Linked DNA regions of Homo sapiens: regions 2, 3 and 4 are each linked to region 1. Evidence: promoter capture Hi-C in human tissues and cell types (Jung and others, 2019). All regions are on one chromosome and are shown on one strand. Each heading gives the region's core, a stretch centred on a gene start or on the middle of the fragment in contact. The rest is flanking DNA. Distances are from core to core; before and after follow the strand shown.

Evidence for each region. The method cuts DNA at HindIII sites, captures the fragments that hold promoters and counts their contacts. A contact is called where the count stands out against the background at its distance.
Region 2: a contact is called between the fragment with the promoter of CERCAM here and the fragment with the promoter of SH3GLB2 in region 1, in 3 of the 25 tissues and cell types used here (dorsolateral prefrontal cortex, lymphoblastoid cells and spleen).
Region 3: a contact is called between the fragment with the promoter of ODF2 here and the fragment with the promoter of SH3GLB2 in region 1, in 1 of the 25 tissues and cell types used here (lymphoblastoid cells).
Region 4: a fragment that was not itself captured here is called in contact with the fragment with the promoter of SH3GLB2 in region 1 in 1 of the 25 tissues and cell types used here (dorsolateral prefrontal cortex).

The regions. Positions count from the first base shown.
Region 1 is chr9:129,026,520-129,029,771 of GRCh38, forward strand. It overlaps SH3GLB2 (SH3 domain containing GRB2 like, endophilin B2), which reads right to left and starts at 1,812. Exons shown (of 11, transcript NM_020145.4): 1 at 1,573-1,812. The coding sequence starts at 1,635. RefSeq lists enhancers at 1-236, 237-800, 801-1,364, 2,049-2,788, 2,789-3,252 and silencers at 81-312, 1,195-1,704, 1,745-2,174. The HindIII fragment of the contact is 26,388 bases long and covers 1-3,252 here.
Region 2 is chr9:128,419,526-128,423,175 of GRCh38, forward strand. CERCAM (cerebral endothelial cell adhesion molecule) reads left to right here and starts at 1,332. Exons shown (of 13, transcript NM_016174.5): 1 at 1,332-1,549; 2 at 3,343-3,453; 3 at 3,621-3,650. The coding sequence starts at 1,353. RefSeq lists a silencer at 718-1,617 and an enhancer at 1,878-2,067. The HindIII fragment of the contact is 34,497 bases long and covers 1-3,650 here.
Region 3 is chr9:128,454,242-128,457,876 of GRCh38, forward strand. ODF2 (outer dense fiber of sperm tails 2) reads left to right here and starts at 1,765. Exons shown (of 21, transcript NM_001351578.2): 1 at 1,765-2,014. The coding sequence starts at 1,851. RefSeq lists enhancers at 838-1,574, 1,448-1,537, 1,575-2,310, 1,668-1,717, 2,311-3,046 and 1 more and silencers at 1,938-2,247, 2,378-2,477, 2,508-2,657, 2,868-2,917. The HindIII fragment of the contact is 20,941 bases long and covers 1-3,635 here.
Region 4 is chr9:128,437,946-128,441,061 of GRCh38, forward strand. No RefSeq gene overlaps it. Among named protein-coding and RNA genes, the nearest start is that of ODF2, 17 kb to the right of the region's middle. RefSeq lists a silencer at 673-846. The HindIII fragment of the contact is 5,750 bases long and covers 1-3,116 here.

The DNA.
Region 1 (3,252 bases), core at 562-3,061:
TCTATTTATAAAGCTCTCAGCTCCCTCCCTCCCACCCCGAGGCTGGGGCCTGACTGCTGGCTCCCACTCCAGTAACAGTGACCCTGTGGGGCAGCTCCCACCAAGCGGAGCCACACCTAGGCCCTGCCCTGCCTAGGTCCTGAGAGCCCTGGCCAGGTCAGGCAGCAGGGCCCCAGCCCTAGCAGGGAACTGGCAGATCAGGTTCTTCCCAGATGTGGGAGATAGTGTGGTTGCCATACCAACAGCAGAGTGGGTTCCCCCCTCCCAGATGGACTGGGGCCGTCCAATCCGAGGGGCTCTGGGATCCTGGCATCTCCACTAGGGCTGGGGCTGCCCACCAGACTTGGAACACATTAAGCAGTGAATTCTCGCTGGGATGCTAATCCTCAGCGGGACACAGCACCTTCTAGTAAACATGACTACATGGGTTGCTGGCTGGGTGTGGGCTCCTGGGGAGGGGAGTGCCCGGGTTGGGGGTGGGGAGAGAACTGTACTCAACAGAAACAACAACGATGACAACGACAACGACAAAGACAAGACTACAGGACCTGCTCCCAGAACCCTGGGATGGGCCAGCCCCGGGCCTGCGGAATCCCACTGAATCCCATAACCACGGTGTTACACCAGATTTACAGAAGGGGAGGGCGGGGCTCTGAGAGAAGTGACTTGTCCAAGGTCACATGCTGCACAGGTGCAATATTAACCACTTTGACACCAATAATGAGCTTGCCTTTGGTGAGCACACATATGCAGAGTCCCACAGAATCCTCGCATCTGTCCTGGGAGGCAGGAATACTGATCCCATTTTTCAGACTGAGAAACTGAGGCCCAGTGAGATGAAGGCCCCTCCCCCAAGGTCACAGGAGGGCACATTCCCACCCACACCTGACCCTAGGTCTTCCCATGATGTTGAGTTGCCTGTTACTCTCTGCCCCTAAACGGATAGGACTTCTTCCAATCTCAGCATCGTGGGCCTGGACAGCTTCCCAGCCAGACCCCAGCCCTCTCTCCATCCCCCAGGCCCAGGGACCAAGGAAACAGACCTCCCGTGGAGCAGAAAAGAAACAACTCCTGGCTTCCGGCCTGACTATCCAAACGTGTGAAATGGCCATGAGGGACTCATGGCACCAGCCGCCCATTGCACAGGTGCGGAGACTGAGGCTCGGAGAAGGGGTTGTGGTGGACGCATGAGTCCCTGGGCCTGGGACCCAGGTCGCTAAATGCCCCGCCAGGCGCCAGTCACTGCTGGACAAGGGCAGGGAGGTAGCACCCAGCCGGTGCCTCCTCCCCTCCTCAGCCAGGCAGGCGCCAGGGGAGCAGGGTAACCCAACCAGCCCAAAGGGTGGGCACCGGTGCCTCGCCCCAGGCAGCAGGGCCAAGGCCCGGCTCGGGCCGCACGGGCTCTTTCCCTCTTCCGGTCAGCAAGGGCTCAGGGGGGCAGAGGTGTGCCGCGGCGGGGACGAGGGCAGCAGCCCGGGAGGGCTTTCCCGCGTCCCCAGGCGTCTGCCGCAGGGTGCTCCCCGCCCGCCGCACATCCGGGCCCCCGGCGCACGGCGCGACGCCAGGCCTCACCTGCACCGCCCGGGTGAAGAAGATGCCCGCGTCCGACGCCAGCTTCTTCATGTTGAAGTCCATGGCGTGCCCGCACGGCCGCCGCGCACGGCCCGAGCGCAGCCGGCAGCCCCCGGCCCAGCCGCCGCCGCCAACCGCACCCCGCCCACCTGCTGCGGGGCACCAGCCCTCCGCGCACCCGCCTGCCGGCCTGCCCGCCTGCCCGCCCGCCGCAGCCGCCGAGCCAGCCCGAGCGCGCAGGGCGGGGCGCGGAGGCCGCGGGTCGGAGCCAGAGGGGCGGGGGCGGAGCTGGCGGTGCCGGGGCGGGACGGGACGGCAGTGGGGCGGAGCTAGAGGGGCGGGGGCCGGGCTGGTTGGCGGAAGCCGGGCGGAGTCGGAGGGGGCGGGACTGGCGGGACAGGGGCGGAGCGAGAGGGCAGTGGGGCGGAGCTACATGGGTGGGGGCGAGGCCTTGGCGCGGCCAGAGCGGGGGTTGGTCTGGGGAGCAGGTTGTGCTGGGCAGGGCTCGCTGCTGGGCAGTGCTCGCTGCTGCCCCCATGCGCCTGCCGCCGCGGATTGGGCCGGCCTCTTTTTTTCCTTTTACTAAAATTATTAAAACTGGAACACATGTGCTCTTAGATGATTGCAGGTACACGCCATAATTACATATTATTTGCCATCTTACCAATGCTTTTCAAAAGTTTTAATTGATAAATATATATTTACGGCCTACAAGGTGATGAAATTGTGGAATGATGAAATCAAGTTAATTGACATATCCATCACCTCACCTACTTTTTTTGTGGTTAGAACATTTCAAATGTACTCTTTTAGCAATTTTGAAATATGCAATACTTTTTTTTTTTTTTTGTAGACAGAGTCTTGCTCTGTCGCCCAGGCTGGAGTGCAGTGGCGCGATCTCGGCTCACTGCAGCCTCCACCTGCCGGGCTCAAGCGATTCTCCTGCTTCATTCAGCCTCCCGAGTAGCTGGGACTACAGGCGCCCACCAACATGCCCCGCTAATTTTTTGTACTTTAGGAGAGACAAGGTTTTGCCATGTTGCCCAGGGTGGTCTTGAACTCCTGATCTCAGGCAATCTGCCTGCCTCAGTCTCCCAAAGTCACTAAGTGACTGAGTAGTCACCAATATGTGCAACAGATCTCTAAAATGGGCCTCTCTTGCTTTCTCCTCCCACCACCCAGGCCTGCTGCCTCTCCCCTGTTTGTGCCTCTTCATCTCCGCTCTTTATTCACACCCCCTCCCTCCCATTCCCATTTCTTCCACTCTGTTTCCCTTGGGTTTCCTCCCGTTACTCCTCCTCTCTGACCTCTCCTCCTCTCTTCTGCCCTGACCTTGGTGACTGAGCCGGAGTCAGGCTTGGGACTTGCCCTCCACCGCTGGAACAGCTGTTTGTCAGCCTGGGAGGCCCTGTGGCTTCCCCAAATTGGAGGAGGGTTGGGGTGGCGGTCACGGGAAGGGAGGGGGTTCTGGAGCTGGGGCCTGGAGCCCCCTGTGTGGTGAGAGGAGGAGATCAAAGGTTGGGTGACTGTCAGGGTGGAGAGAATGAGCTGCCCTGGGAGCACAGATGTGTGATAACCTTGAAACCAGCTCCTCACAGCCCCAGGCAAGGAGATGACCTACAGGTGCTCCTGACCCCAAATGCCTTCCCTTGGGGCTCAGATAGAGGCTTTGTACTGGTC
Region 2 (3,650 bases), core at 82-2,581, 610 kb before region 1:
ATTCATTCTCTCGAGGAATCCCTGCAAACCCTCCCAGATGGGTGGCGTTATCAGCCCGATTTTACCCGAGAGGCTCCTGAGGGAAAGGGACCTGTCTGAGGTTGGTGACAGACACCCAGTTCGATCCCATCTGTGGTGCCGCCAGGCCGCTCCCTTTTCTGCTCCTCTCCCGAGAGGCTGCAGAGTTCTTTCCCTCCCAGCAGGGTCCTAAGGACCCCGGCGGTGCTCCAGGGGAGCCAACATCCCCTGCTTTGGAGGACGGACGGGTCGGGTCGCAGTGAGCAGCTCCGTGGTGTCCCCTAGTTCTACACTCAGACCAAGAGAGGGCTGTGAGGGCTGTGCTCTTTTTTTTTTTTTCTTTTTGAGACGGAGTCTCGGTCTGTCATCCAGGCTGTAGTGCAGTGGCGCGATCTCGGCTCACTGCAACCTCCGCCTCCCGGGTTCAAGCGATTCTCCTGCCTCAGCCTCCCAAGTAGCTGGGAGTACAGGCACCCGCCACGACGCCCGGCTAATTTTTGTATTTTTAGTACAGATGGGATTTCACCATCTTGGCCAGGCTGGTCTTGAACTGATCTCAGGTGATCCTCCCGCCTCGGTCTCCCAAAGTGCCGGGATTACAGGCGTGAGCTACCACGCCCGGCCTGGCTGTGCTCTCTTAAAGGGCCGAAGCAATGCGGGTGCTGGCGACCGACGCAAGGAGGTGACGCACAGGGGACTTAAGGAGCGGACCGCCGCGGGAGGACGCGCCCAGCTCAGGGGGACTCCCTCTGCGCCCCCCACGCTGGGTCTCCGGCCCACGCGTGGCCCGGCTGGTCTGCGGAGCTAGCGCCAGGGCCGCCAGAGGGCGCCCGGGGCGGAGGATGGGGCGGGAGCCGGGGAAGCCCGGGAGGTGGTGGCCGAGTGGGCGCCGCCCCTCTGGGTCTGCGGCTCAGGTCGAAGAGTCGGCTGCGTGGGCCGGGGAATCCGGATTCCGGGGGTTCAACGCCCAGGGGTTCCATGAGCCCCTACTGTTCTCGGACGCCCGGCCGGCCCCGACGCACTCGTCCTAGCACCCCTCCCCTGTCCGGTCCTCCGGCCCCTCCGCCGTCGCCCCTCCGGGGTCCAGCCGGGCGGGGCTGCTCCAGGGTCGCGGCTGGCGCGGGTCCCCGGGCCCTGGCCCTCCGGTGCCCCGGGCCAAGGAGAGAAAACTTGAGCATCCACGCACAGGGGTGGGGAGCAGGATCCCACTCTGAGGGTGCACTGCCCCGCCCTCTCCGGGTCTGCCTCGGCCCCGCCCGGGCCCCAGGCCCCGCCCCCTCCCCTCGGCCGGCCCGAGAGCTCCGGGGGCCGCTGCAGCCGCCCAAGCGCCCGCCATGCGCGCTGCCCGCGCCGCGCCGCTGCTCCAGCTGCTGCTCCTGCTGGGGCCGTGGCTGGAGGCTGCGGGCGTTGCGGAGTCGCCGCTGCCCGCCGTGGTCCTTGCCATCCTGGCCCGCAATGCCGAACACTCGCTGCCCCACTACCTGGGCGCTCTGGAGCGGCTGGACTACCCCCGGGCCAGGATGGCCCTCTGGTGAGAGACCCGGGCATTGGCACCGAGTGGGCACCTAACCCCCAGCTTCGCAGATGGCCCCCGCCCCCGGCGGCCCTGTCTGCTCGCTCCCTGCCCAGACACCACCTAGACAGGCCCCTCCCCTCACAGACGGCCCTGCCAGCCCGAGCCGCCAGAGAGGACCCCGAGCCCCCTGCTGGGAGACGACAGACCTCTGAGGCCACAGGCCGACGCGGGACACCCACCCCTCCTTCTGGTCCCCTACTCCTTCCTCTTGGGGCCTTCCCTGGGTGTAGGTTGGGCCCAGCCAGCCCTTTTCACCCCAGCCTTCAGGGCCCAGCTCAACCCCAGTGGGACCTGTGGTTGGCTGGATTTGAAGAGGAGCAGACAGGAACCTCTGAAGTCCACTGGGGCCCAACGTGGCAGGGATCGACCACGCTGGAGGCTTCCGGGCACAGGTTGGGGGTGCCATCAGCACTGGGCTCCGGGCTGTGCAGGGGAGTCAGACCGGCCCCCCCACCGCCCCCGTGCTGGGGCCAGCTCTCTTGGTAGATCTTGGTAGAGGGGCGGGATCCTGTCAGCCAAGGGCAGTCCCCCTTCCTGGAGCCTCTCCCCTCTGGCATCTCTGTACCCCCAGGGCACTGGGATCGAAGGCCACAACCCCTGGTCTGTAGACACCAGAACAGGGAGGAGTCCCTGGCTGAGGTTGGGGGTAAACTGAGAAAAATGACAAGCCACCCTCTTCAACACACCACAGTTGGGCTGGGGGGGTGGAGCCCTGGCCTGGGGAGGCCGCCCACAATTACCACAGTTTGGGAGTTTGTTAGTTCCCACCCCTGTAAGACTTGACACGTAGTCTTCATTTCTGGGGAATTGGCTTAAAGGGGCAGCATCACCCAAAACCTGGGCACTTGGCTAAACCCCCACCTCTGTTATGGGGGCCCCTTCCCCAGGAGAGGGGAGGCTGTGCCCCATGACAGCAGAGCTTGGACCCATCTGCATTCTTAGGGACGCTTAGAGCATGGTTTGGTCCTTATTACAACCTGGGGGTGGAGGAAAGCAGCAGCTCTTCTGTCTAGTCCCCATTCAGAGAGGGACAGGGGCTGGCCTGTGGTCACACAGCCACAGGTCACATAGGTAGGTATCTGCCCACCTAACGAAGGTAACCAGGGAATGCACCAGGTGTGATCCTTAAAGTCGAGGTACTTTTCATCTTTCAAAATGCATTCGTTGGCCAGGTGTGGTGGCTCACGCCTGTAATTTCAGCACTTTGGGAGGCCGAAGTGGGCAGATCACCTGAGGTGAGGAGTTCAAGACCAGCCTGGCTAACATGGTGAAACCCCATCTCTACTAAACAAACAAAAATTAGCCGGGCATGGTGGTGCACACCTGTAATCCCAGGTACTCAGGAGGCTGAGGCAGGAGAATCACTTGAACCCGGGAGGCGGAGGTTGCAGTGAGTCGAGATCATACCACTGCACTACAGCCTGGGCGACAGAGCAAGATTCCATCTCAAAAAAAATGCATTATTCTTCTCTTATCTTTGTCCATGACATAAGCAGGACAGCTTAAGTTATAGAGGGAGGACGTGAAGCCCAGAGAAAGATGGGACTTGCCTGAGGTCACACAGCAGGTCACAGAACTGTGGTGGGGACCTGGCTGTGCTGCCTCCAGCCTCTCTGCTGTAGCACACCTACCCTTCACTGTTCCAAGGAGAGCTCGACCTCAAAGGTGTTAGTGCTTTGGGGTCAAGGCTGCCTTGGGGTTCAATCCTGTGGCTGTGCCCCCTCAGCCTTTTTTCTTCCCGTCCCCAGGTGTGCCACGGACCACAATGTGGACAACACCACAGAGATGCTGCAGGAGTGGCTGGCGGCTGTGGGCGATGACTATGCTGCTGTGGTCTGGAGGCCTGAGGGCGAGCCCAGGTGGTGATCTGAGGGGAAGGGTGCTGGGGAAGATGGAGAACAGCTGCAGCCCAGAGAGGAAAAGGGACAGCCCAGAGCCACAGCCTCCAAGCCAGGGCTCTGTCCACTGCCCTGCAGAGAGGGAGGGGCATGTACCCCATGGGAACATCTCACCTCTATCCCCTCAGGTTCTACCCAGATGAAGAGGGTCCCAAGCA
Region 3 (3,635 bases), core at 515-3,014, 570 kb before region 1:
GCATAGTCTGGTCCTGCTGACTTTGGCAGGATTTCTCTCATCGCTGGCCCTGTAACACTTCAAGGGACTGCAGTGATGATGCTTCATAGAATATGCAGTATTCTCTTGTACCTGCATGTGGTACCTGTGTACCTACTGCAGTCTGTTTAGAATTCCCTTTGCTGCTTGTTTGGCGAACTTCCACTCACCTTTCATGGCTCAGTTCCAATACCATCACCTCTGGGAACCATCTCCTGCCTGCCCCAGGAGGACCGGGACCTCCTTTTCCTGTCCTCTTTTCCTTGAACCTGTATATACTTTTTTTTTTTTTTTTTTTTTTTTGAGACAAGAGTCTCACTCTGTCACCCAGGCTGAAGTGTAGTGGTGATTTTGGCTCACTGCAACCTCCGCCTTCCAGGTTCAAGGAATTCTCCCTGCCTCCTCCTCCCTAGTAGCTGGGATTACAGGCACACACCACCATGCCCGGTTAATTTTTGTATTTTTAGTAGAGACGGGGTTTCGCTATGTTGGGCAGTCTGGTCTTGAACTTCTGACCTTAGGTGATCCGCCTGCCTCAGCCTCCCAAAGTGCTGGGACTACAGGCGTGAGCCACCGCAGTCTTAAATGGTTAATGAGGATTAGGAAATCTATCAATTATTCAACAGAGAGACAATGAATGGATCAAGGGATTGGGGAGCTCCCTGACATTACAGAACAAATTCAGTATGCAGTATACTGTGAAAGCGAGGCGGAAAAGCAGGTTTTGTTTGCGAGTCTGACTTTAGGATTGCAGGTGAAACACTTGTGTGACCCTGGAGCTGTGTGGCTAAGGTGCTGCGGGGTCACTGGAGAAAGGTCAAGGGACTGTGGCCCAGTTGGCCCGGAGGTGGTTCAGGTCTCCCAGATTCCAGGGCGGCATTATGAGCCACGTGACAGACCTCCCCTGACTGGCTGACAGTGAAGCATAATTGAGAAGATGGCGGACCAGCAAGGACCTCATCAGAATAGGTCTGTACACAGAGCGGCATAGAGAGTGCAGGAGGGTAGTAGACCGGGCGCGGAGGCTCAAGCCTGTAATACAAGCACTTTGGAAGGCCGAGGCGGGTGGATCATGAGGTCAGGAGATGGAGACTATCCTGCCCAACACGGTGAAACCCCGTCTCTACTAAAAATACAAAAAAAAATTAGCCGGGCGTTGTGGCGGGCGCCAGTAGTCCCAGTTACTCGGGAGGCTCAGGCAGGAGAATGGCGTGAACCCGGGAGGCGGAGGTTGCGGTGAGCCGAGATCGCGCCACTGCACTCCAGCCTGGGCAACAGAGCAAGAATCTGTCTCAAAAAAAAAAAAAAAAAAAAAAAAAAAAAAAAAAAAAAAAGTGCAGGAAGGTAGTGAACAGAACAGCAAGGGGAATGCCGACCCTTTCTCCTGTTGGGGCCAAGACAGAGGCGATGTGGGCAGGGGAGAGGCCGGGGAATGCGCAGAAGCCGACTCCATCTCCGCATTAATAGTGGACTAGGGGCAGGGCTGGATTTTCGGAGGCAGTGTGCAGCTCCCAATAACTAGTTCCATGGGTCCTCTGTGAGCCTAGTTTCCTGGTGGGTACCGAGGGGAGGGCGTCGGAACCGTACGCTCCTTTGAGTGAGGGGAATCCGGGAGGATCCAAGGCAGGGGAAACAGGGCCGAGCGGGAAAGGCCTTGAATGGGGGGCGAGACCCGGCCAGGCCCGCTGGACGCGTAGCACGTCTCCTTGGTGACGGGACGCGTGGCCCGGAAGTGGGCGGCCCTTCTGGCGGGGCGGGGCATCTCTGTGACGCTAGGGGCTGGGCCTCGATGGCGAAACCCAAGCGGCTCCCGGGGGGGTTTGAACTGGCCAATGGGCGAGCTGCCGACCGGGTGTCGGAAAAGGAGGCGGAAGCGGGGAGGAGCCGCTGCCAGAGCCAGACTGCATCCGCCGCGGCGTCTCCATGGCACGACCCTGGCCTCCGACTTCAACGACTTCATAAGGCGGCGTTTCTGGGCGCAGCCGTGTCGCTCCTGGTGAGAGGCCGCCGGCAGGCGGGATCCAGCGCCCTCCGGGGCACCGCGGGCGAGACCGTCGCCTTCGCACCCCCGGCGCGGTCGACCCCGCGGGGCCGTCGGGTCCTGGGTTCCCCGCCGCGTTGCGCTCGTCCCCCTCCTGTCAGAACCTGGGCCCCCGCCCCGCCCACCGGCGCGGGGCCTCTCCTCCTCCCGCTAACGGGCGGTCGGCCGCCTCCTTCCTCTCTTGGCTACCACGGGGCTCTGCCCCTCCTCTGCCGCCCGCGGGCAGGGCTTCACCTTTCTCTCTATGGGCAGAAACCGGTACCCTCCTGCCTGCTGGTGGGTGGCCGTCCCTTCTCTCCGCCGACAGAGGCTCTCCCTCGCTCTGCTGCCCGTCGGCGGCATCGCCCCGACCGCCTCGTCCTCTCCTCGGGCCTCCACATGGCAGTCACTTGTACGCCCTCCGTAGGCAGCGCTGTCCCCCGGGCACCGTCTCCGGCTTGCCAGGGCCCTCGCCCGGCGGGGGGGGGTCCCGCCCGCCCCCTCCCAGCCCGGCGTCTATCCTGCTCAGAACTCTGTTCGGTTTTCCCTCGCGGCGGGGCGCCCGGGGCCCGTGCAACCTCCGCGCCTCCCTCCTTTAAACACTATTGGTCCTCTCGGGCATCTGTTCTTCCGTAACGCCCCTTCTCCTAGGAGACAGTTGTCCGGCCCCGCCCCAGCATCCCCGCGGCTCCCTGCGCGGTTCTGGCCCTCTGGGGCCCACTTGGGGCCGAGCGGTTCTCACCCGCCCTCTCCGCACGTCCGCCGGCGCCTCAGGTTTCCCCCGGTAGCCACCGGCAGTCCTCCGCGTGGGACCCGGGCGCGGTGGTCCTTTCCCTCGCGGTTCTGCCCCGTCCCCTCCCCTTCCTCCCCTCTGCCCCCAGGTCGCTCAGCCTCTACTATTTCCCCCTACTTTGGCAGGACAGTTGCTGTGCGACTTGGACAGTAGAGGAGCGCCTCCCAAGTTTTCATCCAACTGCCAACCCCAAAGCTTCCACCCTTCTCCCCTCAGAGAGGACGTTTGATGCCGGGCCCCTTGAGAGGCTCATTGACAAGCCTGCCCCTCTGGGTCCCCCTGAGCAGAGCCTGCTGACCCAATTGCCCACCTTTGCGGCTTTGATGCCTAGCCATGTCTGCCTCATCCTCAGGCGGCTCCCCCAGGTATTGCCGATGTGGGAGGCGCCTGCGCCGGAGGGCAGGGAAAGGTGGCCAGGGGTCCCCAGGGCAGGCTCGCCTGAGGCTTCCAGCTTCCTCATTGTGTTTGCTGAAAGTCTGGACCAAAACGTTTAAAAATCGTTTTTAAAGGGAAGGGGGAACGAAATGTATACACAATCCTAGCTCTACCTCCCTCGCTCCTTCCCTCCCCAGATGTCACAGCTTCCTGGAAGCAAACAGGGTCACTCTTGTTGTCTTTATATAATAGAGTACTAGGTTCAGAGCCTTTTTGAAGGGAGTCGAGGTGTAAATAAATAACACGTAGGAGGTGGATGTGGCAGTTAGCAAGATAATGGAATCCAGGTGGTTTGACAAGAAACCCACTGAGAGATTTCCCAAAGCTATTGGCTTTACGTGAACAATGTTCTAAATGATTAGGGAAAAA
Region 4 (3,116 bases), core at 107-2,606, 590 kb before region 1:
CGTATATACACGTATATACACACACGTATATACACGTATATACACACACGTATATACACGTATATACACACACGTATATACACGTATATACACACACGTATATACACGTATATACACACACGTATATACACGTATATATACGTGTATATATGTACACATACGTGTATATACATGTATATATGTATACATACATATATATACATGTATATATATTTGTTTGTTTTTAAGACAGAGTCTCGCTCTGTCACCCAGGCTGGAGTGCAGTGGTGTGATCTCGGCTCACTGCAGCCTCCGCCTCTTGGGTTGAAGCGATTCTCCTTCCTCAGCCTCCCTAGTAGCTGGGATTACAGGCATGTGCCACCACGCCCAGCTAATTTTTGTATTTTTACTTTATATTTTTTAACTCATGGCTGAGCCTCTGCATCTCAGCTGGCCTGGGAGGAGGCTTCCTGATCTATGGTTGAGCAATTGGAGGGACAGAGAGGGGAGGACAGGTGAGGAGTCAGGCCGATCCAGCATCACCTCTGTGCTGGGTGATCTTGGGTGGGTGCCATCCCTTCCCTGGGCCTTAGTCTACTCTTCGGTCATTGTGGCTGGTTGGGTATAGAGTGGCCTAGCCTGAGCCCGGCTCACAGTGAGTGCTCACCTGTTGGGGCTGATGTGGTCATCCCCGAAGTCATTACCAGCCTCACCTTGCTGGTCAGGGTGGGCCCAGCCAGTCCAAGGGCTGCTGATGTCCCCCGGCCCTTTGGATCATCTCTTGTGCAGCTGAAACCCTGGCTTAGGGGAAGAGGAACCGCCTGGGAGGGGCTGGGGGAGATCCTGGGTTCCCCTCTGGCACTAACCAATGTGGCCACCAGAGGGCGCAAGGTGGCAGAGCCTGGACTTGGCCAGGATGCTCTCTGCTGGGTTGGGGCCAACACCAGGAAGGAAGCATGGGCCATAGGGAAGCTCCCATTGGTGCTGGGGCAACCCGCAGCAGCTCTGCGTCTTCTGCTCTTCTGATGGGAACTGCAGGCCTCTCCCCTGGCCCCAGAGAGTCGGGCTTCTGGGCCCAGCCGCTGTCTGTCATGCCTGCACTCAGGCAGCTGGAGGGGTGGGAGGGGAGATGGCTCCTGGCCTTGGCCATGGCTGCTTTGGCTTCCACCGTTCCTGCTCCTCTTCCATGTGGCCCCCTGACTTGGTTGTGTGAGCACTCCAGTCCTGGCAGAGCCTGACAGGCACTCCCTGAGGTTGGGGTATCCCTTGGCTCTGTCCTGGGGTTGAGGTCCAGGACCTGGCACGGCTGTGAGAAGGACCTTGGGCTGGAGCTGTGGACTCGGTGCTTTATTCGTTCTAAGATGAAAGTCATTCATTCTGGATGGCTATGACCTTGAGCGACTCACTTCTCTCCAGGCTCCAGGTGTCCCCTTCATTCATTTGTTAACCTTTATTAAGCACCTCCCATGGGCCGCAGTCAGGCCCTGGGGATTCAGCAGTGAATGAAACTGACAAAACCCCTGACCTCATTAAACTGACATTCTTTTTTTTCTTTTTTTTTTGTGGCGGAGTCTCACTCTATCACCTTCTGTCACCACACCCGGCCAAAACTGACATCCTAATGAGGGATGCAGACAAAAACAAAGAAAGATCAGAGGGTGTGAATTGCTATAGAGAAAAATGAGAAGCGGAGAGATACAAAGTAAGATCTGAGAAGTTAACACCTGAACAAAGACGCAGGAGTGGGCCAGGCATAGTTGCTCATGCCTGTAATCCTAGCACTTTGGAAGGCCTAAGCAGATGGATCACTGGAGGCCAGGAGTTTGAGACCAGCCTGGCCAACATAGGGAAATCCCATCTCTATTAAAAATACAAAAATTAGTCAGGTGTGCTAGCGGGCGCCTGTAATGCCAGCTACTCGGGAGACTGAAGCAGGAGAATCACTTGAACCTGGGAGGTGGAGGTTGCAGTGAGCTGAGCTTGCACCACTGCACTCCAGCTTGGGCGACAGAGTGAGACTCCATCTCAAAAACAAAAGACTTCGCCAGGCAGGGTGGCTCACACCTGTAATCCCACCATTTTGGGAGGGCGAGGCAGGTGGATCACGAGGTCAGGAGTTCAAGACCAGCCTGGCCAAGAGGGTGAAACCCCGTCTCTACTAAAAATACAAAAATTAGCCAGGTGTGGTGGTGGGCGCCTGTAGTCCCAGCTACGTGGGAGGCTGAGGAAGAGAATTGCTTGAACCTGGGAGGCAGAGGTTGCAGTGAGCCGAGATCAAACCACTGCACTCCAGCCTGGGTGACAGAGTGAGACTCCGTCTCAAAAAAAAAAAAAAAATAGACAAAAAAAAAAAAAAAAAAGACTTTAAGGAGGGGAGGGGCTGAGCCTTGGGGATAGCAAAAGGAAGAGCTTCCAAGCAGAAGGAACAGCATATGCAAAGGTCCTGAGGCAGAAGCAGGACTGACAGTGCAGAAGAGAGGAGGACCAGTGTCTAGAGTTGATAGAGCCAAGGCTGGGGCCAGAGCAGGGATGGCCATGAAGGCCATTTTGGCTTTTACTCTGAGATGGAGCCCCCAGAGAGATGGAGGCAAAGAAGTAACCATCTAACTTACATTTTTACATGATCACCCTGGCAGAGATGTGGCATGATCTCATGTAGTGTTATAAGATCACACCGGCTACTGTGCTGAGAATAAACTGTAGGCAGGTCCATGGAAGAAACAGTGAGACCAGTTAGGAACCCACTGTAATAATTCAAGCATGGCTGGGCGTGGTGGCTTATGCGTATAATCCTAGCACTTTGGGAGGCTGAGACGGGTGGATCACCTGAGGTCAGGAGTTCGAGACCAGCCTGGCCAACATGGTGAAACCTCATCTCTACTAAAAATACAAAAAAGTCGGGCGTGGTGGTGGGTGCCTGTAATCCCAGCTACTCAGGAGGCTGAGGCAGGAGAATTGCTTGAACCCGGGAGGTGGAGGCTGCAGGGGGCCTAGATCGCACCATTGCACTCCAGCCTGGGCAACAAGAGTGAAACTTAGTTTCAAAAAAAAATTAGCTGGGTGTGGTGGTGGGCACCTGTAGTCTCAGCTGCTCAGTAGGCTGAGGTAGGAGAATCTCTTGAAGCCGGGGGCGGAGG